Regions from separate parts of the Homo sapiens genome. Here regions 1, 2, 4, 5 and 6 are each linked to region 3. Evidence: promoter capture Hi-C in 16 types of primary human blood cells and fetal thymus (Javierre and others, 2016). All regions are on one chromosome and are shown on one strand. The core of a region is centred on a gene start or on the middle of the fragment in contact, and the rest is flanking DNA. Distances in the headings are between cores, read along the strand shown.

Region 1 (3,941 bases), core at 1,190-3,689, about 38 Mb before region 3:
GCCTTTTAGTTTCCAAATGGGTAAAATGTTTGGCCATTTTAAAATTGCTTATGTCTTATTTTGTTAGATTGTGTATTGGAAAATCATGTCTTATAACATCTCAATGCTTTTGAATTTTTAAGGTTTTAATTGTGGATTTATGTCACTTCTTATGATCACTTTTTATAGATATTCCTGGACATTTGAAATAATGGAGAAATATACTCCTATTCAATGGATGTAACATTCTATAGTACAAGTTACATTTAGTTTACTGATTGTATTTTTAAATCCTCTATGTTCTTGCCTACTTTTTTTTCTGCTGCATATGCTAAGGGAACTATATAGCAGCCCCTGATTACAATAGTAATTTTATCAAGTTATCCTTGGATTTGTAATAGTTTTGCTTGGGGCATTGGGCTTCTACAGTTTGGTGTGCAAATGTTTTGTCAGTTGCATTGTTTTAATAAATGTCAGTATTGTGGTTCCAAAATGGCCCTGTACATCCTGTTGAGTGATTTTACCTCTTCTGTTTATCTTCTTCCATCTTCAGATGCCTCTTCTGGTTCACCTGTGGTTGGTTTTCAGTCTTAATTATTTCCTCGGAAAGGGGTTTTGTGGTGCTATAGTTTCTATTTGCTTATCTTCAAATGTCTTTCAGCCTGATAGATGGAAGATATCTTAGCTGGGTATGGGATTCCTAGGTTGCTGATCCTTCTCTCTTTGATGTGACTCCATTGTGTTTAGCTGTCAGTGTTGCAACTGAGAAGTCTTAGGCCACTCTGATGAGTTTTTTGCTGTATGTATATGTCTTTTGTGGATGAGAGGAGTGGTTTGAAGGATGGGAAAACAATGTCAACCAGGTGTCACCACGCACAATTCCAGGAGGCACCATTCACATCAACTTTCATCATAAGAGTCATGGATGACTGCAGGTCAAATTCTTTCCAGCATCTGCCACTGTCTTGTCCTCATCCTAGGCTATCTGAAGCCTCATCTCCAGGTACTTCCCCAGCCTATAGGGAAAAAATACTTCCACCAGTTTTCTCCACCTGGGCTTCCAGAGAGCTAAAGGTCTCCTCTAAACCTCACTTCCCTTAGGCCTCAGTAGGAAGACTTCAGGAGATGCAGAGGCAGAACTGAGCATGGAGATAAAGAGGGTTGCTTTTGGGTAGCCATGGGCCCAGAATGTCCCTCATCCCTTAGAGCGTAATTCGTTAAGCAAGGCTTGCTTATAATTTTTCCTCTACAGATGTGAGCTCTTCAAATTGAGAGATCTCTCAGTGACAACAAAGTGGCTGTACAAAAACTATAACATCATTTTAAACAGATTAGGCACTAAATTAGTCTGGGCGCCATAGCTCACACCTGTAACCCCAGCATTTTGGGAGGCTGAGGTGGGTGGATCACTTGAGGTCAGGCGTTCTAGACCAACAAGGTGAAACTCTGTCTCTACTAAAAATGCAAAAATTAGCCAGGCATGGTGGCGGGCGCCTGTAATCCCTGCTACTCAGGAGGCTGAGGCAGGAGAATCGCTTGAACCCAGGAGGCAGAGATTGCAGTGAGCCAAGATTGCACCACAGCACTCCAGCCTGGGCCACAGAGCAAGACTCTGTCTCTAAATAAATAAATAAAAATAACGGGTTAGGCGTTAAATTATTTCTTCCTAAAATAAAGCTGAATGTGTTGGAATCATTGTTCTCTATTAATAAAAAAAGAGGAATATTAAAAATTTCAAGCAAAAATTTGGCTTGTTCATGGTCTAGGAAACCTACTAGGCAGCCTGCTTTTGAAAAGGAGAAGATAAGGCTCCACAACACATGGCGTGACAACCATTTATGACCTCTCCAGAGACAATATTCCACATGAGACCATCCGATTAGAAAGCAGAGTCCATGAAATAGACTTGTCTTGCTATTTCTGTGTGCTTTTAGGAAGCCTATGCTCACTGAGAAGAAAGAAAAGAATGTTCCTATAAACTTGTGATGGAAAAGCAATAAAAGCCACCAGAGACATTCTGAAATTTTTATTCTAATATTTCACTGACCAGAAGGAAGAAGCAGGAAGCCTTGCAAGGTTCAAGAAATAGTTGTCAGCAATAAGGAGAGACCACATTTTTCTGCCTCGTATAAAGCTTAAAAAGCAGGGGAATGGTGTTCAGAGAGAAAAGAGCAATTGATCTAATTGGACTAGAAGAAAGTATACTTTAAAAATTTTTTATTATGATAAAAATGCATAAAATGTGGCATTTTAACCATTTTCTTATTTCTTATTTTTTATAGACAGGGTCTTGCTCTGTCACCCAGGCTGGAGGGCAGTGGTGCAATCATGGCTCACTGCAGTCTCAACTTTCTGGGTTCAAGCCATTCTCCTCCCTTGGCCTCCAGTGTAGCTAGGACTAAAGTTGCAAGCCACCATGCCTGGCTAATTTTATTTTTACCATTTTCAAGTGCATAATTCACAGGGATTAATTGCAACTATCACTGCCGTCTTTTTCCAAAACATTCTCATCACTCCCCACAGATACTCTGTACCCATTAAGCACTAACTCCTCATTCTCCTTTCCCCAGCCCCTGGTATCCTCTGTTCTACTTTTGTGTGTGTGTTTCTTTATGAATTTACCTATAGAAGGAAGTATTTTTGTGTACCAGGGAGCAGTAAAACTAAGTCAGTGAAAAGACTACCTCTTAATCGATTCAGTACTGAATTCCGTAGACAAGCGAAGCCACGCAAGGTTTCAGAGCAAAAAATACAACCCGGCTAGAGCATTGCTTTCAGAAGCTTCATCTGGCAGTGGTTTGTGGGATGGATTGGGGTCTGGAGACCAGTTGAGAGGTTGTTATAAAAGCCCAGGCTGGGGGTAAGGAGCACTTGGAGCCACTACTGAAATGAGAAAGAAGATTTAGGAGACATTTTAGGGAATATACAGGAGGAAGCAGCCACAGGACCTGGCAAAATTACCTCGGGGTAAAAAGGGAGGGAGGATGACAGATGTTTTGAGTCTGGGTGACTCGGGTGATTAATTTTTAAACTATGCATTTTTAATTAGGCTTCTATAAAAAGTCACAAAACAGTCATTTAAATTATCAACAAAGCGTTCCAAAAAAAGATCAGAATCGAGTGTGATGTTCTTTTAGGAAAAAAACCTGAATCAAACAAAAGAATTCTATCTTCTAAATGTCAAGGTTCATGTGACATGACATGGCATTTTATAGGAAAGGAGGGAGGTAGGGAGGACCAGGGTAATCAATCAATCTAGAATGCTCGAAGGTAGGAATTCAAGGGAGGGAGAAGGAACTGACTCTATAAGGAAGGCCATTATTCGTGGAGAGCATGTTGTGGCTAATATTTAATAATAAGAAGTACGATATTATGGCTAGAAGCATGGAGTCTGAATCCAGACTTTTTGAGTTCAAATCCTACTCTGTCATGAACTAGCTGTGTGACCTTGGTCAAATTGCTTAACCTCTCTGAACCTCTGTAATATGGGTTAATATAATATCTATCTGATACAGTTGTTTGATTAAATGACTTAATATATATGTAATGCTTAAGTACCTAGCACATAGCAAGTGCTATACAAGATTTTGGCACCATTATTATTCTTAGGCTAATTTAAAAGAGCAACGTAAAATTTAAAAAGTTTCCCTGTAAGGTTGAATAACTTACTAAGGAAATCAGAAATAAAGGAATCACAAAGTCCGACATACAGCCACAGCTGAAATACCTCTTTTCTGTGATTTAAGAATGCTGCCTTCTTAGGCCAATGCTAATTATTCACCTGCTTATTAAACATTATTTAAAAAACACTTAAATTGGTATGATACTAACTCACTTTTTAAAATTCATTGACTTGGAATTTTTCTAACCAAGATTAAGTTTATTTGTTTCAATGGTCTGAGTCCATTCACTTTTTTTGCCCATGACAAGGGATGCTGAGTTGAACAGGAAGTAGGGATCAA
Region 2 (4,002 bases), core at 120-2,619, about 21 Mb after region 3:
GTGCTACATAGTGAGACCTATTAATACTTTTCAACTCTGAAACTTTTAAAACTAGCACCCGGCTGGGCGTGGTGGCTCACACCTGTAATCCCAGAACTTTGGGAGGCCAAGGCAGGCAGATCACTTAAGGTCCGGAGTTCAAGACCAACCTGGCCAAAATGATGAAACCCCATCTCTACTAAAAATACAACTACCCGGGCGTGGTGGTGGGCGTCTGTAATCCCAGATACTCAGGAGGCTGAGGCACGAGAATCACTTGAATCCAGGAGGCAGAGGTTGCAGTGAGCTGAGATAGCGCCACCACACTCCATTCTGGGCAAGAGAGTGAGACTGCGTCTCAAAAAAAAAAAAGTATTTCAAAAGCAGAGGTTTTGCAAAGCTGAAGGCCTAAAAAAAAGTATATAATTACAGTTCAAACTTATTTGATGGGCACAAATCCAAGTTTGTCAACATGCTCTGTTAGCAAGATACAGGATACTCGAGAGGCTGAGGCAGGAAGATCCCCTGAGCCAGTAGTTTGAAGCTGCGTTTCCTATGATCGTGGCTGTAAATAGCCAATGCAATTACCTGGGTAACAGTGAGACTTCATCTCTTTTTTAAAAAGGCATAGGGGACTGGGACTGGTAAAAACAAAAACTAGTACTTCCCGTGTGAAGGGTCATTTGGCAATTCCTAGTGTCAGAAAAAAATTACAACAAATTTACTTACAGATCTAACTGGCGTTTATTCATAACTTATGAATGGGGCAGCCTCCATTCTACAAAACAGAATGAAAGCTCCCAATGAGAAACAGCAGAATAGTGGGTTTTGTAAGATGAGAGCAAGGAAACAAAACAATGAAAAATAACTGATTGGTTAACATCGGGTTACTTTTTTTTTAAGGGTTAAAGAAGAAGGGACTTCCTTATTATTCTGATTCAGACAGACTGGGATTTTCTGTTTTCAGGAAAAACTGGTCTGTAAAGTTTCCATGTAACTGTGTGGCACTTAATATATGTAACTACTTTGGTCTGCTAGGACCTAGTGCAGAAACTCAGTCCACAAACAATGACCCCCCATAATTTTGGTTTAACGTTAGCACAAGTCGCCAGGCGCGGTGGCTCACGCCGGTAATCCCAGCACTTTGGGAGGCTGAGGCGGGTGGATCACTTGAGGTCAGAGTTCAAGACTAGCCTGGCCAACATGGTGAAACCCCATCTGCACTAAAACTACAAAAATCAGCTTGGCATAGTGGCACATGCCCGTAGTCCCAGCTACTTGGGAGGCTGAGGTAGGAGAATTGCTTGAACCCAGGAGGCGGACGTTGCAGTGAGTCGAGATTGCGCCACTGAACTCCAGCCTGATGACAGAGCAAGACTATCTCAAAAAGGAAGAAAAGATAGTGAGATTCCCTTCTAGCAGTTCTAACACCAAACCACTGAAACAAATATATGAACTATACATCAAAAATATTCATCATGCACATGCCCATACCATGCTCTAGCCTTTAGGTTACTGATGCTTCCAGAGAATATAGGAATTCTATAAATCCTTAACCCTTCTTTGAATGAGGGCTAGCGCTTATAAATTAGCTAATAGTATGACAAATAAGAGCAATTTGAATTTTTCTTACAGAATAAAATATACAAATGGAAGAGTTATCTAATTCACCTATTGGGTAGTAGATAGAAATGGTGAATTCTCTTAAGCCACAGAAACAAGCTAGCACATTGTGTGATACACATTGTACAACACTGAGGGTAAGTCACAATTGTAGATAAGAATTGGTTAAGGGAGATGCTATAATTAGCAAGTGGTTAATGTTCTACTTCCCAAGTCCAAAAGGGGATACAATGGTTTTGTTGGTCCTCCAGCCCCTTTACTTTTAAGAGTAGTATTTTCTAACCATTCCAGGTTTCTCCAAAGCTCTGGATAAATTCTAGCAGAACCTAGCTGGCCGGGCATGGTGGCTCATACCTGTAATCCCAGCACTCTGGGAAGCTGAGGTGGGCGGATCACAAGGTCAGGAGATCGAGACCATGGTGAAACCCCGTCCCTACTAAAAATATTAAAAAATTAGCCAGGCGTGGCGGCGGGCGCCTACAGTCCCAGCTACTCGGGAGGCTGAGGCAGGAGAATGGCGGGAACCCGAGAGGCGGAGCTTGCAGTGAGCTGAGATGGCGCCACTGCACTCCAGCCTGGGCAACAGAGTGAGACTCCATCTCAAAACAAACAAACAAAAAAACCCCCAAAAACCCAGCAACACAGCAGTTATAAAGGATTAAACCTTAGCTCTAAACCACCTACCCTCAAATTGGTAGTAGGTATATACACTTTTCTGGAGTGCATACCAAACATTTTCTGCAGTCTGGGGAAAATGTTCTAAAATTTGTAAATGCCTTTCAAAATATAAGCCGGTATATTTACAGAATTTCCTTCAAACAAAATAAATTTACTGTATCATTCTGTAAAATGTCTGCAATCTCCAGCTTTTGTGCTAAAATTTAAAGTTGTAACATGTAAATATTTCTGTATTTTTGAATTACCTTCTATTGAAGGAACATGTAATATTAACATATTCACTAGGCCAAATCGGTGTTTTTGTATCTCTTTTTAACCACCAAGCAAATTTCTAGGCTGCTAGAATCAGCCTGTCAGTGGCAGAAGTTATGGTTAGAAATCCTCTCCTGTTCATTTTATAGATGGGAAAACTTAAGGAGCCATGAGGGGGTTCTGCAACTCACCAGTCACACAGTCAGTTAATGGCCAAGGAAAGAACCCATTCTCCCAAATGCCAACCCAGTACTCTCCACAGAATTAAGCTATATTAGCATCGTAAGCTAACAACTCTTTTCCTACATCCCTACTGTAAGCCCCAGTAAAATGAAGCTAAAGTATCTTTTCCCCCTCCTGATTATTGGGAAATCTGCATTACCTAAATGCCAGATGCCTTGGGATTTCAAAATAGAATTATCTTACTGAAGAGAGGGCTGGTTAATAGAATGGAATAATAAATGACTACTGCTGTGGCTTAGATTTTTAAGAGAGTCCTATTGCAGTCTGTCTACCATGACAATGACCTGCTTTGGTTTCCCTAAGAACACCCAAGAGGAGCAATGACAAAAGTACACATTTTTATTAATAGCTGAATTTTAAACAGCCAATGTGTGGAGGTTATTTACTAACCAACAGGAAACACCTGCAGCAGGCTGCATACTTATAGAGCAGCAAACTTAAGGGAAGTCTGTAAGGCTTTACTGTCTTCCTTTTCAAGTCTCTTCACTGCTATGCACAGTTGAGGGCATAACCTTAAAAGTCTGTAACATAACAAAAACATTTTAAACATCAAACATCGTGCTTTCCCCACTGTGGCACATTTTTAGAGTAAAGCATTTGGCCAACTGGATGTTACAGCATGATGCCCACTACATTATGTTTAAGCTTCCATTCCAGTTCTGAACCCACCAGACCCTTGGAGCAGCTGGAATTACCAAATCAACAGGGTATCAGTGTAACTCAATCCTACATGGAGCAAACAGACAAAGCAGTTAGTTCCTCAAACACCCAATTTACTTGACAGAATCAAAGACCAACTTTATAAGTTTAGAAGTTTTTAAAAGCAGATACACATTTAGAATTAAGCTAAATGTATATCCTCCGTGTTCCCCCATCCTCACCCTCAACTCTCACACACTCACCCCCTTGGTAGGAGAATGGTGAGAAGTGGATGAAACTTGATGCTTGACTACATGGCTCCAGTAATGCAGTGAAAAGACAAAAACACATCAACGTGACGTTCCAGGGAAATAAACGCGAAATCATGCATCCAACTGGCCACTAAGGGTTGGCTGTACAGAATTGTAGTATGCGTATGGAGAAAATGCTAACTGAACCTTTCTAAACAAATAAAAATATACACAATTATTTTTCCAATAGCTCAAGTATTGACTTATTTTATGGGCAGATGATACCAAACTAGCAAAAAGCTTTATGCTAAAAATGTGCCTTTGTGGGAAAACCAGC
Region 3 (3,558 bases), core at 191-2,690:
TTTGTCTGAAAATTCAAAGCAGTTTCAGAAACAACTTCAAGAGGAATCATTCCCATGCCAATTGCAACACCAGTAGCCACTTGATCAGCTTCTGACTGAGGATGCCAGCCAGAATCCTTCATGGCTAATTCTGCAGCCCCAATGGCCATGATGGTGGGAGAAGACATGGACTTGATATCTGATTTGGACACAAAGTTTTGTTCATTGAACTGACCTTCATCACTACCTCTTGGCACATAAGCAGCAACACTGCAAGGGATACTCTTATACTCTTCACCAACCAGTGAAACAATTCCACTCTCTCCTCCGATAAGACGATCCCAAACCAGGTGAGTTCCAACACCAAGAGGAGTCACTAAGCCAATGCCTGTAATGACAACTCGCCTATGCAATCTGGATATTGGCACAGTTCCGAAAAACTTCCTTTTACTTCTTAACTGTTGGCATAATCTTGAACATAGAAGACGAGTGCTTGTAATTTTCAGGAAATTTTGCAGGCAGTTGGACATGATTAAGATTCAGATGATCAGAAACACATTCCTGTAAAAGACCACAACACACCTAGGAGGTATTCTTTTAAATAGCTTAAGGGCCTAAGGAAAAACATCCAAGGTGTTCCTTTGGGTGCTTGATATGAGCTGCTAATGAACACAGGGAAAATGTTACATACTTTCAATTTATACCTTAACATCAAACTATCTGTTTAAACTTACCTTCTTTTTTAGACCTTAAGTGCCGTCAGACATTTGAAGACAAATAAATGAATTGATGATTCATTCGAGTCACCAAAACAGTAATTCAATGAAAAATATAAAGGCACCTCCAGCCTGATTTGAGCTGCAGGAAGCATCCTTTGTCAGGATTACTGATAACTTCTTCTAAATAGCATTTCTGGTGTCAGTGGCACAGAAAACACATTTCAGGGCATATTCTTTTAAGTAAGTAAGTGGGCTTTATCAATCTTCAGTACTTAAGGATAACCAGCCTTTTCAAAACGCTACCCAGGGCCAAGAGCCCTAGACTGAGCGTCTGGATACATGGGTTGGCAATACACTCTGTGACCAAGCTTGCGATGGGGGAAGGGGACAAGTCTTTCCACTCCTCTAAACTTCTCCAATTGAATCATTGGTGGAAGGAGGGGTTACGACTAGTGGATCACTTCAAGGGTACTACGAAGGCCAGGGGCGGGAGTAAAAGAGTGTAGCCATTCCCTGTATCGCCTCTCAGGCACCACCACACATGTACACAGCCCGAAGAAGCATGGCGAGAGAAAAAGAAATCAGGCCCCAGGTCCTCGGACTCCCCTCTCGAAATTCAACCCCGACTTGATTTGAATGTAAAGGAGGAAAGGAGGGGCGAAGGAGGAGGGTAGCCAGCGATACCTGTAACGGGGCTACCCCGGACACTTCTCCACAGTCGGGGGCGATGACGCTCTCGAGCGCACGCGCACACGCACGTACGCTCATGCGCGCTCGCACGTACGCTCATGCGCTTTCCCACGCACGCGTCCCGTTCGACTCTCTTTCCGCCGGTTGACTTTAAGCCGCGTCACCTTGGCTGAGGTCAGACCGTGGGAGGCGGCTGGGTAGCTGTTTGCGTGAGCAGAGACGCCCCTCTCGGAACCTCAGTGACTCGCCGATAATCGAGGACCTGCCAATAACGCGATGAGGTAGCATTTTCACCCATCAAAAAGGCATTTTTCTTTGGCAGTGATAATGCCCAAATATTCCCTTTTGTCGGAGAAGGGACACCATCGTATTCTACTGGAATTGTAAGAAAGAATTAAGGAAATTCTCTGCAGTTTCAAAGTTATTGCTATAGCTCGCAACGTTATTAGTAATTGTGAGTAAAGTGGAATTAACCAAAATGGCCAACATCAGGAAATTTGTTGTGTATCTTGTGGTACATCCAAATGCCATGCAGCCGTTTAAAATAATTCTGCAGGTGAATATTTATTAATGAGATGTTGCGACTATTTGTTAGGAGACATAGTTACAAAACAGTATATATCCGTTTTTTCAAAAATAATTCTTTAAAGGTCTGCAAGATGTATACTGATTGTGATCTTTCCCTCCTTATTTTTGCTTAGCTTTATTTAATAAAGCTTTTCTACAATAAACAAATGTTTTTGTAATAAAGTTTTTACTTTTTAAAAGTTGTCACCAGGCTGTTCTGCCTATGGAGTAGTCATTCTTTGTTCCTTTACTTTCCTAATAAACTTCCTTTCACTTAAAAAAAAATTATCACCAGATTTGAGACAGTGCTCAAAAATTGTCTCCATTGTCACAATGGAGACATTTGTTTCTAAGTGTGAAAAATTCATTAACTGTTTGCTTAGAGCTGACTGCAAACCGATAAAGGGAAAATATAACATGAAAATGTAAAAAAGCAAGAAGTCGACAAGATGGTATTCATCGAACATCTGTTTTTCACATGCTATCCCAGGCGTGAGTTTTGTCCTTGCTCTTCTTTAGAAAAATGGTTGAGCATAGAATCTTCATCTGGACCTTCTAGTCATATTTATGGTTTTTTCTGGGCAATGCCTCTTGAAGCCATTGTTTCCAAGTAGAGTGCTCTGCATTCTTTCCTACCCCTACAGAAGAATGTGAGTCAAGCTTAGCTTTCCAGGTTGGTCCTGGATTTAAATGAGTTTGGAAATCTATTTTGTTTAAAATAATTCAGCAAAGCTCAGTTTGACCTTCGTCCCAGGCCTAACCAGTCACCTCTAGTTGATCCTCATTCAGTGACAAAGTAGAGTTTCTTGAAGAATTAAAACAAACACATGTGGTTATAAAGTAACACTTGATGAGTAAGTACCTAAACTTGATCTCTTTTCATTGCTGTCTTTAAAATAATAGTGTGAAAATACCTACAATATTTTCTCTGAAGCTGAACTCATAAGAAACATACAGTTTTAATGTGCTATTTCTTTTGTAATATCACAAAATCGTCTTGGCTAAGAGGTGACAAAATCTTTCAGAAAAATAAAAAGACCATCATTTTTGTATCTACCTCTTATCACCTTTTCTTTGATCTGGAAAAGGGTGGGAAATTTTATGATATTTAATGGCTTTACATATTTGGTACCATATTTCCTGCTACAATTCCATCGTGTCTTCTTGCACCAAAATCTTCAAATGGGCTCTGCTTATCCTACCCTCCTATTAAGACTTCCTAGGTTTGCCTTAAATTCTTTGTAATCTGATTCAAAACTATCTTTCCAATTATGGCTCCCATTCTCTATTAAATGAGCTTGCCACCCAGCAAACTGATTTTCTCACTATACATGTCTTGATTGACCCTAACTTTTCTCATCTCTGTGCTTTTGCTATTTTCAACAACCACTCATTTTCTTCCTATCAATGCTTGAAGTTTGAATGCAAAAATGAGTAGAGGTATGGCTCTTGCTTTCAAGAAGTTTATGGTCTAGTAAAGGGAGACACCCATAGAAACAAGTAAGTGCAAACTGTTGAAACAGGTGCTATAGTGGAATTATTATAACACAAAAGGGACAATGAGGTCTGTGCTACCTCGTAAAGTCAGAAAAGGCTTCAGAGA
Region 4 (3,846 bases), core at 1,123-3,622, about 23 Mb after region 3:
CCAAAACAAGTTATATCATCTTGAAATTAAAAACATTAGACATGAAAAGATCAGAAAGACTTCCAAAAGGAAATAATGGCAATCAGGTTTTTAAACAAAAGAGAAATCTAAATGGAACTAGACTTACTGGCAGTACTGGAAGCTAGAAAACAATACCTTTAAATTTCTGAGTAAAAATTATTCCCTGCCTAGAATTCTATAACCGTAACTATCAAACCACCATGGAGGTGAAATAAAAACATTTTCAGACGTGTAAGGCTTCCTCAGGTTTTGGATTATTAAAATGAGGGCTTAAGCCAAGAGAGAACAGCACATGGGACCCAGGAAACAGGAGGCTTAACAAAAAAGAGAGGCCAAGGAAATTCCTAAAAGTCCATATTGGAGCAGGAAGACAGCACCAGGTAAGATGTTTCCCAAAAACCCAATTGAAACTTGATATAATGTGTTTAAATCTTTTGAGAGGAACTCTATAGCTCTGGCACAGAGTGCAGGAATAAATTGGTAGTATATGGAAAGCTTATGTAAAAGAAAAATGCCATTAACTGCAGGAAAATTTAAAAACATGCCAATAGAAGAAATGTCATCACAATATACTCCACAATCTGGCTGTAAACAATACAGAGTCATAAACGTGAACCCTGAATATTGACTTAACCAAAAATTATGATATAAATATACTAGGAAGACAGAAGAAGGAGAATTATACGTGCTTGTTGTTGAGAAGGGTGTGGTAAGAAAGCTAAATCATCTTCCCTTATGGAAAGTCAATACGTAACACATCTTAAAACTGGGATAGTAAAAACTGAAAAGTAAATACCCGTAGCATACAAAGGTCTTTTTAGAAATGGAGAGGTAACATAAAAAGTAAACATGGCTGCAAGAACAGAGGACTGCAGGGTTTATGACGGGCATAGAAGAGACTGACTTTTTTATTAGACTTTTCGTTATTTGCTTTTAACTAGAGAAAATTAAGTTTTTAAAAATTACCAAAAAAGCAATGTAATTACCTGTCAAACTTTTGACTCACCCTGGCAGTAATTGTTCCGTGCTTTTCTCCTCTGTTGTTTATCATCCGAATCCCAGCCGACTGAAACATCTCCTTCATTTGAGTAGGGGTAGCAGTGGTGGCAAAATCTATATCCTGAGGCTTTACTCCATTTAATAAATCCCTCACTGCTCCTCCTGCTATTCTTAATTCGTGATTCTCTTTGACAAATAATTCTGAGATGAGAGAAAATAAGATTTTTATTCCCAAGTTCTTTATTTCAATGTGTTTATTTTAACCACAAAAGTACAAGGCTTTTCCATCTAGTTGGAACAGCAGAGATTCATTTAACTGAGGCTTTTCATATGAAAAATGAGAACAAGGCCCAAAGAAGTAAAAAGACTTGTCTACAGGAGAGTGCCTCTGAGGACCAACAGGAAACAGAGAACTTGCAGAATTCTTTGCTTATTCAGAAGATAATTCAGAATTCCACAATGCCTCAAAGTGATCAATATAAATTTGAAGTATTACTAAAGACTAAAGCAGGTCAGGCGCAGTGGCTCACATCTGTAATCCTGATACTTTGGGAGGCTGAGGTGAAAAGATCACTTGAGCCCAGGAGTTCAAGACCAGCCTGGGCAAAGAGCAAGACTCTATCTATACAAAAAATAAAAATAGCCAGGTTCAGTGGCGCACACCTGTAGTCCCAGCTACTTGGGAGGCTGAGGTGGGAGGATGGCTTGAGCCCAGGAGTTCAAGGCTGCGGTGAGCTATGATCGTGCCACTGCACTCCAGCCTGGGTGACAGAGCAAGACCTTATCTCAAAAAAAAAAAAAAGAAAAAAAAAGAAAGTAAATCAAACAATTCTGCTTTCTTTTCCCCATTTATGTGCATACTTTAGAAATGGTAACATGTTCTTGTATTTCTCTGTGTTTACAGATAGATGTTGAGGCAGGATGTTCACGCATGAAACTATCAGACATTAGTCTATACCACTTATGATTAATGTTTATAGCTAAAAATCTTCAAGAAATGGTCTGTATATAATTCTAAAATCAACTCCTATCTGTGCTCTAGGTAGAACCATTTGAACACTGAACAACTATAAGCAACTACATAGCTGACTCCTCTATATGTAGAGGATAAGGCAAAATCCACTATAACTATATCCATATGTCCACATGGAACCTAGTGAGAATGGCATCCAGGAGCTAGCCTGCCACAATATTAGGCCCTGGGGTCTGTGGTACAGAAACATTTTCACAAAACATCAATATCAGACAAGCCCATTCTGTGACCACGATGGATCGATCAAGACAACTCTGTAATCACCTAAACATACACGAAACATGAACACTGTCCATGATACACCCTACAATAGTTGGTAACAGTGACTGTGCCTTACCAATTAGGTTTAGTCTCACAACTGTACTCAACTTCTAGGAAACCATTATTAAGACACCCAATCACAGAATTACTTCTGCTTCCTGAGAGCATCTAACCCGCTGCAAAGCTCTACTACCTTAAATGCTCTCCAAAATGACCCAATACAAGCCCAACTCCTATAAGAAGTCATTTCTAAAGCCCTCTTACTGAGTATACCTCCAGGTTCTCCAGTGTCAGCATGCTACTCCTCACTCAGCATGTTGCTCCTCACTGCCAGGAGTAACAACCCAACTTGTGTCCCTGTTGGTCTTTGGCTAGCAGACAGCAACACGAGCATTCAACTAAACTCATCATACATCAAAGTTCCAGCACCTCTAATCACAACTCAAAACAGAATCCTCTATCCCTACCTCAACATCTGTTTTCTGTCCTGCCCACACTCCTCTTCCACCTACTCTTCCCACATCTTTTCAGCCCCATTCTCTGTAGACTCCTTAAAATGATGTACTTAAAAGTAACAAATGCTCCCTACCCTCTTGACTTAATTAAGGATATCTTTTCCACAAGCTCTCCCCAAGGGGAAGTGTTCATATTCCCCTAATGCCACATTTCCCATGAAAGCCCACTTCTGGGACCACATCACCTCCCTTAAATCCAGCCTCCACCATCTAGACATAGGGATTTAAAACACTAGGTTAATTACGCTACGCATTAACTGCTCCTCCTAACTACTCACAACACAGTACCCAAATTCCTCAGTGCTATATCCAAAGGCTTCCATGACCTATTTGTCTCATCTCTTGCTAAACTCTGCATCACACTGTCTGTACCAGCTGTCTGCACAAAACTCTCCCCACAGTTTTCCTCCATAATTTTGCTTGTGTGAGTCACTTCACTGAAACACCTCCCCAACTTACTCCAGCTCAGTGGCTGGCTGTCACACTTCTTAGCCCATAACCCACACTAAGACATTCACATAGCAGTCACCAAAATTTGTATGTCTACATGGCAAACAAAAGTATCATAAAAGAAAACCTACCCTTCGTACCATGCAATCTATTCTATTCTCTCTTTTTTTTAATTACTGGTCATGACCACTAAATTGACTTCATGGCCCACTAAGAGGTAACTACCCAGTTGGAAAACAATGATCTAGCTCACTCTTACTTATCTGTTGTGACTCACTTTAGGAAGCCTCACCTGAAGGTAAGGTTAGGTGAATTTCTTCTAAGCGACTAGTACAGCATATCTTTATACATACCAATTATATTAAAATTACCTGTTTTATGTCTTTGTCTCCCCACTTCTCAGGGTAGAAAACCTATCTTATTCATCTTTATACCAATCTGGCTCATAATTAAACTGAATTATGATATTCTAACTATTAAAAAAAAGAATGACTTCACTGGTAAGTATTGGGTTTTTTTAAGTTTTCTTAAAACGGTATCAAGTAGCTGTTCTGAAATTCAAGCAAA
Region 5 (3,875 bases), core at 1,305-3,804, about 21 Mb after region 3:
TATTTCATCAGTAGCAGTAAGTTTACCATTTTTCCTAGCTTCCCTCTCACCACCAGCATCCCCAAATCAACTGAGGTCCATTTGTGGGATGCAGTACAGCCTCACCGCCTGAGGTTACACCCTGCTCCTACTTTGTACTAGCTACTGGGCAAGTGATTTCACTCTCTGCACCTCAGTTTCTTCACCTGCATCTGACGCACAGGGTTTCTGAGATACATGGCTCTGGACCTGGCTTACAAGTACTTAATGTGTCCATCTTATTATTTTTAGCAACCAGTTAGAAAAGAGTCTGTGGACCAGTTTTTCCTTGCTGTACAGCTAATTCTGAAAAGGGGAACTGGGCCTAATCCTTGGCTCTATGAGCACCCACACAGCCATGTGAGTCAACAGAACTCCAAGAAGAAACTAGAGTTCTCACATCCAAATGCTTCTCACTCCGCCAGTACTCCTGAGGATCTTATCAACAGGAAACAAAAGCACTATACCACTATAATGAAGTGTCTGACTTTTATTTTCTCATTAGAAAAGCCCAAAGATTGTAGCCCAGGGAACAGCTAAATATTTAGAATGTTAAAAAAGTTATTAAGACCCAGCCACCCACCCCCACCTACCTCTGTTACCCTGTTATTTACCATGTTCCTGAACATTTCAGGAGAAAAAACTCCTGATAGCCAAATCTGCAGCAATAGTGATGTACGTGCACCCGTTGAAACCTCCCACTCTTCAAATGCAGTCTGACCATTTTGGGGAAAAAATAGGAACTGTTGTGTTTACAGATAAATGCTGCTCTCAGCTCATATTCCACCACGGGCCCCAAAACAACAGGGACCTGCCAGATTCCTTGACACTCAGGTGGCTTGAGTCAAGGGCTGGATGCTACCACCTTAAGCTTCAATAACTCACTTCCCTTTTTAAAGTTCTAATTCTTTCAACTTGCAGCAACCACTTTCATTTCTTGCAATCCAACCTACTCTGATTAAGCACACGTTCAAAATTAGAAAAGAGTGACTATTTCTTGAAGGAGAGAGGCAGTTAATACTGCTTACACATTTTGGCATATGAAATGCACTGTATCCTTCAGAATTTAAATCATCAGCATGCTTTTCAGACCGGCAATGGGCCGCCGTTTTATTGCTCCATTTAATGGCCTTTTCCCCTCCTCTCTCATAAACTTTCAGGCTCCTTCAATTCTCAGCTACTTCCAAGAAACGGACTGTCCACTGGACCTCTGCTCCCAAAAGCCCTCACCAAAGGCAGAGGCAAATTTTGAAGACTGAGCCACGGAGTTTCTTTTTCTTTCTTACTCCCCACCTCCTTGGCGGTTTAGATAGAACTTAAAATAGGCTTAGGACAAAAACTCATTATTGACTACAGCACTCAGGCTTCCACACTCACCTGACCTGGGTCAGGCACTCTGTTGCCAAAGCAAGCCCAGCGAGGGGTGCAAATCCTGCTCCTCTGTAGTCAGCTCCTAAATATTTAGAAAGAAAGAAGACTGAGTACCAGACCGCGGAAGATGAGCTCTAACAGAAATGCTCCAAATTACAAGTTTCCACCTTCTTTAGCCTCCTTCACTGGGGACAGCCCCCCCGCCCCCAAACTTGGTAGGCAGGTTGGTGGGATCGCTTGGGCGAAGATTCCAGGTAACTACGCTTACTTATTTCCAGGATGTAACTGACAATTGAGACTAGGCACGCACAAACTTCGAACGTGCGGGAGGCTGGAACTAAGGGAAGTGTTTGGCAGATCCCAAAGCACTTGTTTCCCGGCGAGAAGGCCAAGTATCCGAAGCCCGCATCCTCATTGGACATGAGCTTCGTCCACACTTCATCCCTCACCGCTTCTCCGGTTTTCTTCCGTTTTTAAAAACCCTCCCCACGGGGGGCCCCTACACATGCATTATTCTCCCAACCACGGAGCGCAAGAGAGGGATACATTTTTAGAAAGATTATTTCCTTGAGCAGACTCACATATGACACCCCCACAACCTCTCTTCAAAAAAAAAAAAAAAAAAAGAACTATTTCCTGCAGCTGCAGCAACAGTTTCCAACTTGGGGGAATGCCACATCAGACCAGAATGGGGAGCCCCCAAAGCCACGCACTAGAGTAGAGGATATTTGTTTTTTAAGCTTCAAATGAGCTCCCCCCAAAACAACTGCCCGCAGTAAAGGAACCCCCAAATGCATGCCAAGTGCATGCACATCCATCAAGATCTCCCCGAGAGCGGGGCAAAAACTTCTGCGCCCGGGGAGCCAGTGCCAACTCCCCGCGCCCTCTGCCCGGCCCCAGCCGCTACCTTGGTGCCCGGGGAGCCACGCCGGTTTGGGGGAGCAGGGCGAGGAGAGGGGTTAGCAGCCGCTGGGTAATCCCATGTCCGCGAAGAGGGAGCTCGTTCCGTTAGGATGGAAGCGGAACACCCACACCTCCTCTCGGCGTGCGCTTTCTCTCTCTCCACCCCCTGCCTCCTCCTCCACCACCACCTCCTCCTCCTCCTCTCCTCCCACCCCAGCGAGCTTGAGGAAACGCTTCAGCAGCACATCCACATGGTTACTGCACTTTAAAGCGGCTCCGGGTGGCTTATATAGGCCGGGAAGCTCCCTGGGCAATGTAGTCCAAGTAGCGGGTCGTGGCGGCGCCTGAGGCTGCGGGGAGGGACTACAAGTCCCAGAATCCCCTGGGCGCCCGGGCTGGGCCCTAAATAGACGCGTGCGGGGACAGGGGAGGGGCGTCCTGCGAGGCTTTCAGGCTGCTGAGCCTGTTCCTTGGCTGGGGTCGGTAGGGCTTGGAGCCAGCCGTTCAAAGTCACCCCTGGGAAGCGCCCGCAACCCTTGGGGACGCCTCTCCTCCGGCTGCCCCCCTTCCCTGGAATCCAGGTGTCACTGGGGCCGGGGAGGGGCTAGGAGCTCGGATTTCTGCTTTGGGAAGTTTTTACAAGCCCACCCTCCCCCTGCCTTGGTTCCCCGAGCCAAGAATTTCAGAAATCCGGGGCACAAAAACGCCAGTGTTTGCGGTCAAGGATTAAAGGCGCGAGGTGTCTTTATTTAATCTGCTCCGCCCTGCTCGGGTTTGCACGAGAAACCAAGCCTGGGAGCGACGGTCCACGCAAGCGGAGACACAGGCAAGTCGCGTGAGAGCACTTTTCTGAGCCCGAGTTGCTTGTCTTTTATCGCCCGTGAGGAGGTAAAGAAAGGCAGACCTCTCCGGTGCACAAATAAAGGAGCCGTGTTGTGACTTGCCGGCTCTGAGATTGGGAGGCAGAAAATAAATACAAACCGCGACCTCAGTCCTGACCGTACCTCTAGCAGCCCCTCTGCTCCTGGGAGCTGTAAATGCTTAAGTAAATAAACCGCAAACCAGAAAAATAAGGGCTTAGGAAAGAGCCGCTCACACAGAGATGCGCATCCAGGCGGGGCGCTCTCCAAGAGCTCCGAATGGGGCAAGGTGGGTTTCACCCGCTGCCAAGTAATGCCTGGGCTCCCGGGCTACACGCTGCTTAGGGCTCCGGCTTTTGCAAGGAGGGGAAGAGCTAAGCCCGGAGGCAGTCAGCCGACTGCCCTGTCTTGCCTCAAATGACGTATATTCATTCCTCAAACGTTTCCTGAGTGTTTACTAGGTGCCAGGCGCTGGGGCATAGTGGTGAGCCAAACGCATTATAGCATCCCAGACAGGCACTTCCTGACGCCGCCTAAAGATCTGTTATAACAATAGTAATAATAATGATAATAATCAATGGGGAGGCTGATTTTATTGAGCCCAGACCACATGCAGTTTTCATGCGTCATGCTATTGAGTTTTACCAACTGTAGGTATATTTATTATATCTATTTGGCAGGTGCACAATCCAGGGCTCAGAGAAATCAGGTAACTTCCCAAAT
Region 6 (3,938 bases), core at 673-3,172, about 38 Mb before region 3:
ACGTGAACTTTGTCATCTATGAACAAGTTCCTTTAGAAGCTGAGCTCTGATAGTGATGTCAAATAGCCACCTGTTACTTGAAGACGATGTTTGCATACCTGGCCCCTCCTTTATCACTGCTGTTGCTGCCATTGTTGATGACATGATGTGGAAGGGCAGTGAGAAATTTGATACTTGTTCATCTATCTGTTGGACTCAACTAGTAGTGTTGCTTTAGTTTTTAATCTTTTTATCTGAAACGGAGAGTCTATTATAATTTGTCATTTTATTCATTGCAGCGGTTGTGGAACAGGAAATGAAAAAGGACTGGCTTTTTGCCCCTCATTATCGATACTATGTAAGAGAAATGAGAATTCATGCATACAGTCAGCTGCTGGAATCATATAGGTCATTAACCCTTGGCTATATGGCAGAAGCGTTTGGTGTTGGTGTGGAATTCATTGATCAGTAAGTTTGAATAATGCCATGTTAATTGAAGTTTTAAAGTTGCCTTTTAAAATATGTGAACTTGTACAATTTTTTACTTGTTTACATTGGTTCCCTCAATCTTAACGGGGAGGGGAGAGGTTTTTTTCCTCAGTATTATCAAAACATTCGTATCCTGTTGCCTCTGCCTTCCTCATGTCATGTCTGCCCCTTGCATTAACAGATGGGAAGATGAGTTGTAGTGAGGCTAAGTGATTTGTTAAAGGTCATTAGACCAGTTGTTATCAAAAGTTGTCTTCTGTTACTTCTTTGTAGACCACACTGCAGCTACGGTAATGACTCTTAGATCTGATATTTACAGTTGGTCATATTCCCTCTGATAATTCCTTCCAGTTTTTAGGTTGCTGCTGCAATTCTGGTCAGATTGGTTGTTAAATGTGGGACTTTTAGTACTTGCATCAGTGATTAAACAAATAAATACTTAATGAGCCATTCATTACTATATGTTTGGTATTGTTTTACAGCTCCCTTTTCACACTTTCATTGTAGTAGTAGGGAAGAGATGGCAAGGAAGCAAATAAATATAAAACGTAATTTCACATATAGAAATGAACCTATGGAGATGAGAAAATGCTATCCTTACGTACGGCATGCTTAAGGAGGTGAGGTTTGCTCTGAGATTTGAATTGAGAGGAGTCAGCCATATGGAGTCCTTCTGCGTGCAGAAAAGGGAATAGAAAAGGCTAAGGCTTTGAGCCAGGAATAAGCTTGGATGTTGTAGGAACAGAAAATGTCAGGGTGGCTCCAGCATAGTTGGAGTGGTAGGAGATTTTGAGGATAATATATGGAGAGTTAGGTAGGTAATGATTTGTGTAGGGCCTTGTAGGTCATGGGATGGAGCTTGAGTTTTAAGTAAGTTTGATAGGGAGCCATTGGAAGATTTAGAGCCCAAGTTACATGGTCCTATGCAGTGTCTTTATATAAGAAATAGAGTAAGGTGGCAGAGAGGACCAGTTGTGCTGTTTAGTAGCTCTTAGAGGAGATGTTACCGTGGCGTGGACGAGGGTGGTGAGAGTAGAGTTGGGTAGGAGACATACTCAATATGGGATGTCCAGATGGCATCTAGATCAGTGGCTCCCACATGTAGGTGTTTTTAAATGTTGATGATGGTGTTTTCAATGGTCTGCAGTGGAAACTTTAAATGAAGATGCATTTCTTTTAAATAAGACCATTCTCTTTCTAGTATTTTTTAAATTTCGAACATCCATAAAATTGTAAAGAAAGAATTGTACAGTACATTTTAACATATTTGCTTGTTACAATCTATACATTTTATGTTTTTTAACCACTTCAAAGTAAGTTTCAGACACCAACACATTTTTTAAATGATCCCTACCATTTTTTAAATGATCCCTACCAAAATGGAAGGCTGGTATCCCAAGGTTTTGTTCCATTTCTCAATTCTAGTCTGTGAAATTGAAGTCTGATGACCACTCTTAAGAGGGCTGTTCATTAGGGTGCGGGCTGGGCATTATGAGTGTGTTTTTCATGAGTCAGTGGAAGGAGGGGCTTGTTGTGAGCAGTGCATGAGAAAAACGGCTTGGCTTTGCTTCTTTTTCCAGCTCTGTGGCCTTGGTCAGGTTACGTCTCTTCAGTATCGTAACTGTAATGTGGAGATAAAGCCTTCATTAGTTAGGGGCACACACCGCAGTATTCCTTAAGTCATCTTGATGACAAGTGAATGCAAGGCAGCTGGTACCTTTCAGGTAGTAGTTGAATTCAGGTAGTATTTGTTCAGTTTTTTTTTTTTCCCTTCATGTTCTAAGACCAGCTTGAGAGGCAAAGGTTGTACCACTGAGCTCTAGTTGTTGTTACCTAAAAAGGCCTTGTTTTAAATTTCTGTGATACCTAAGAATTTCAAATCTGGGTTGTCATGGATTCTTTATTCTTTTTTTCTCCCTTAAAAAGTTACATTTTAGATGAAATCCCCTTTTTTAAAATGGGCAAAGCAATAATTCTACATCATTTCTCCCCTTCCCTTCCACTTGTTTAGACTAAGATATGTTAGAGAGGGAAAGGGTCGTTGTTTTAGTAAATACTATTGCTGTTGACATGTTAATACTATTGCTGTTGACATGTTTACTGATGGGCTGTGTTCCATAATTTTGTTTTAGGTCTTTTGTTTGAAACAGTTTACTGTTTTTATCAGTTTTGGTCCCTAATTTTTCCTAACCTACAGTTTTTCTCTGAGTACATATGGTTTCATTGTTTGATCTACTTTCTATCTATCTGAATATGAACTTCTAGGATCATGTTTATTCTAGTAGATGATGACTTAAAGCCTGCAGTATAGGAGGGACAACGTCAACTACTGCATGTGCAATAACAAGCTTGAAGGGAAGCTAAATGTTTGTTACAAATTTAAGACAGTATTTTAATGCCGTTTGCATTTTTCTAAGAATTTTCTATAAAGCTAATTCTGTTATTTTTTGTCTCTAAATTAGGGAACTGTCCAGGTTTATTGCTGCCGGGAGACTACACTGCAAAATAGATAAAGTGAATGAAATAGTAGAAACCAACAGGTACTCTCATTTCTCAGAATAAGGGGCATTCCTAAATTTTAAAAGTAGGTCAACTATTGTCATGGAATAATGTGACTGGTAAATAATTCATTTTTTCTTGAATTTATTTATAGACCTGATAGCAAGAACTGGCAGTACCAAGAAACTATCAAGAAAGGAGATCTGCTACTAAACAGAGTTCAAAAACTTTCCAGAGTAATTAATATGTAAAGCCATGTAACTAACAAAGGATTTGCTTTAGAGATAATTATTTGGAATTTTTATAGCTTACTTCACAATGTGCCCAGGTCAGCTGTATAAAATAAATACTGCATTGTTGTTTCTTTCCATTTATTTTTTTCTTAAACACATAGGCCTTCTAGAATCGGGTCCACTTATGTTAAAATAATGTCACTTGAATTATTCATTAATGAAAATCTGGTTTATAGGGTAAGGTTGCAGCTGGGTTCAGCTAGGTTCAGCTCCTGACTGCCTCATCAGTAAAATACGTCAGTAAAATACGGATGTTGACACAGCCCATTATCGCTTACCTTTAAATCTCTTACCTGTAAGCTTCCCGATTTTAGAAAGAAGAGTAGTGGCCTAAAATTAAACAAACAGTGTCTCCCACTTTTAGTATACAAAAGATAGAAGATAAAGAAAATGTGTAATAAGCTTTCCCTCAGAAACAAGTAACCATATAAGGCAGGAAGTTACTCTTTTTTAGGAAGCTGACATAACCTGGATTACAGAATCTACCAAGGCTGATCTCAGTTTTCTAAAACCTTATATGTAAGTATTTATTAGCAAACTGAATCTTTTTTCCAAAAGTAGGACCATAGTAATAATAGCAGTGAGGAAAACAAAGTTGTTCCTCTGTTTGTTTGAAACAGTTTATTAGTTTTATCAGTTTTATTCAGTGTGTCAGATAGGAATAAGTGCTATAAGAAG

The links. Contacts are between HindIII fragments. The CHiCAGO score rates a contact against its expected background, and 5 or more counts as called.
Region 1: a fragment that was not itself captured here is called in contact with the fragment with the promoter of OXSM in region 3 in 1 of 17 cell types (naive CD8 T cells); the score reaches 5.4 in naive CD8 T cells.
Region 2: a contact is called between a fragment that was not itself captured here and the fragment with the promoter of OXSM in region 3, in 2 of 17 cell types (fetal thymus and naive CD8 T cells). The highest score is 15.3, in fetal thymus.
Region 4: a fragment that was not itself captured here is called in contact with the fragment with the promoter of OXSM in region 3 in 2 of 17 cell types (total CD8 T cells and activated CD4 T cells); the score reaches 7.3 in total CD8 T cells.
Region 5: the fragment with the promoter of ITPR1 here is called in contact with the fragment with the promoter of OXSM in region 3 in 1 of 17 cell types (activated CD4 T cells); the score reaches 14.9 in activated CD4 T cells.
Region 6: a contact is called between the fragment with the promoter of PSMD6-AS1 here and the fragment with the promoter of OXSM in region 3, in 4 of 17 cell types (activated CD4 T cells, naive CD8 T cells, non-activated CD4 T cells and 1 more). The highest score is 18.9, in activated CD4 T cells.

The regions. Positions count from the first base shown.
Region 1 is chr3:64,031,220-64,035,160 of GRCh38, reverse strand. No RefSeq gene overlaps it. Among named protein-coding and RNA genes, the nearest start is that of PSMD6, 9.7 kb to the right of the region's middle. The HindIII fragment of the contact is 647 bases long and covers 2,116-2,762 here.
Region 2 is chr3:5,181,132-5,185,133 of GRCh38, reverse strand. No RefSeq gene overlaps it. Among named protein-coding and RNA genes, the nearest start is that of EDEM1, 4.6 kb to the left of the region's middle. RefSeq lists an enhancer at 2,992-3,041. The HindIII fragment of the contact is 4,107 bases long and covers 1-3,422 here.
Region 3 is chr3:25,787,972-25,791,529 of GRCh38, reverse strand. OXSM (3-oxoacyl-ACP synthase, mitochondrial) reads right to left here and starts at 1,440. Exons shown (of 3, transcript NM_017897.3): 1 at 1,383-1,440; 2 at 1-540. The coding sequence starts at 509. It also overlaps a transcript of NGLY1 not described here. RefSeq lists enhancers at 1,143-1,212, 1,223-1,292, 1,432-1,961 and a silencer at 1,395-1,614. The HindIII fragment of the contact is 1,038 bases long and covers 1,069-2,106 here.
Region 4 is chr3:3,134,635-3,138,480 of GRCh38, reverse strand. It overlaps TRNT1 (tRNA nucleotidyl transferase 1), which reads right to left. Exons shown (of 8, transcript NM_182916.3): 3 at 1,028-1,221. Among named protein-coding and RNA genes, the nearest start is that of TRNT1, 9.6 kb to the right of the region's middle. The HindIII fragment of the contact is 3,707 bases long and covers 519-3,846 here.
Region 5 is chr3:4,492,027-4,495,901 of GRCh38, reverse strand. It overlaps ITPR1 (inositol 1,4,5-trisphosphate receptor type 1), which reads right to left and starts at 2,554. Exons shown (of 62, transcript NM_001378452.1): 1 at 2,297-2,554; 2 at 1,396-1,471. ITPR1-DT (ITPR1 divergent transcript) reads left to right here and starts at 2,739. Exons shown (of 2, transcript NR_108075.1): 1 at 2,739-3,118. RefSeq lists silencers at 623-917, 2,216-2,485. The HindIII fragment of the contact is 5,640 bases long and covers 2,132-3,875 here.
Region 6 is chr3:64,009,948-64,013,885 of GRCh38, reverse strand. It overlaps PSMD6-AS1 (PSMD6 antisense RNA 1), which reads right to left and starts at 1,922. Exons shown (of 2, transcript NR_189168.1): 1 at 1,844-1,922. It overlaps PSMD6 (proteasome 26S subunit, non-ATPase 6), which reads left to right. Exons shown (of 8, transcript NM_014814.3): 6 at 279-447; 7 at 2,931-3,008; 8 at 3,122-3,335. The coding sequence ends at 3,218. It overlaps PSMD6-AS2 (PSMD6 antisense RNA 2), which reads right to left. Exons shown (of 3, transcript NR_038286.1): 3 at 1,643-2,089. The HindIII fragment of the contact is 1,623 bases long and covers 1,196-2,818 here.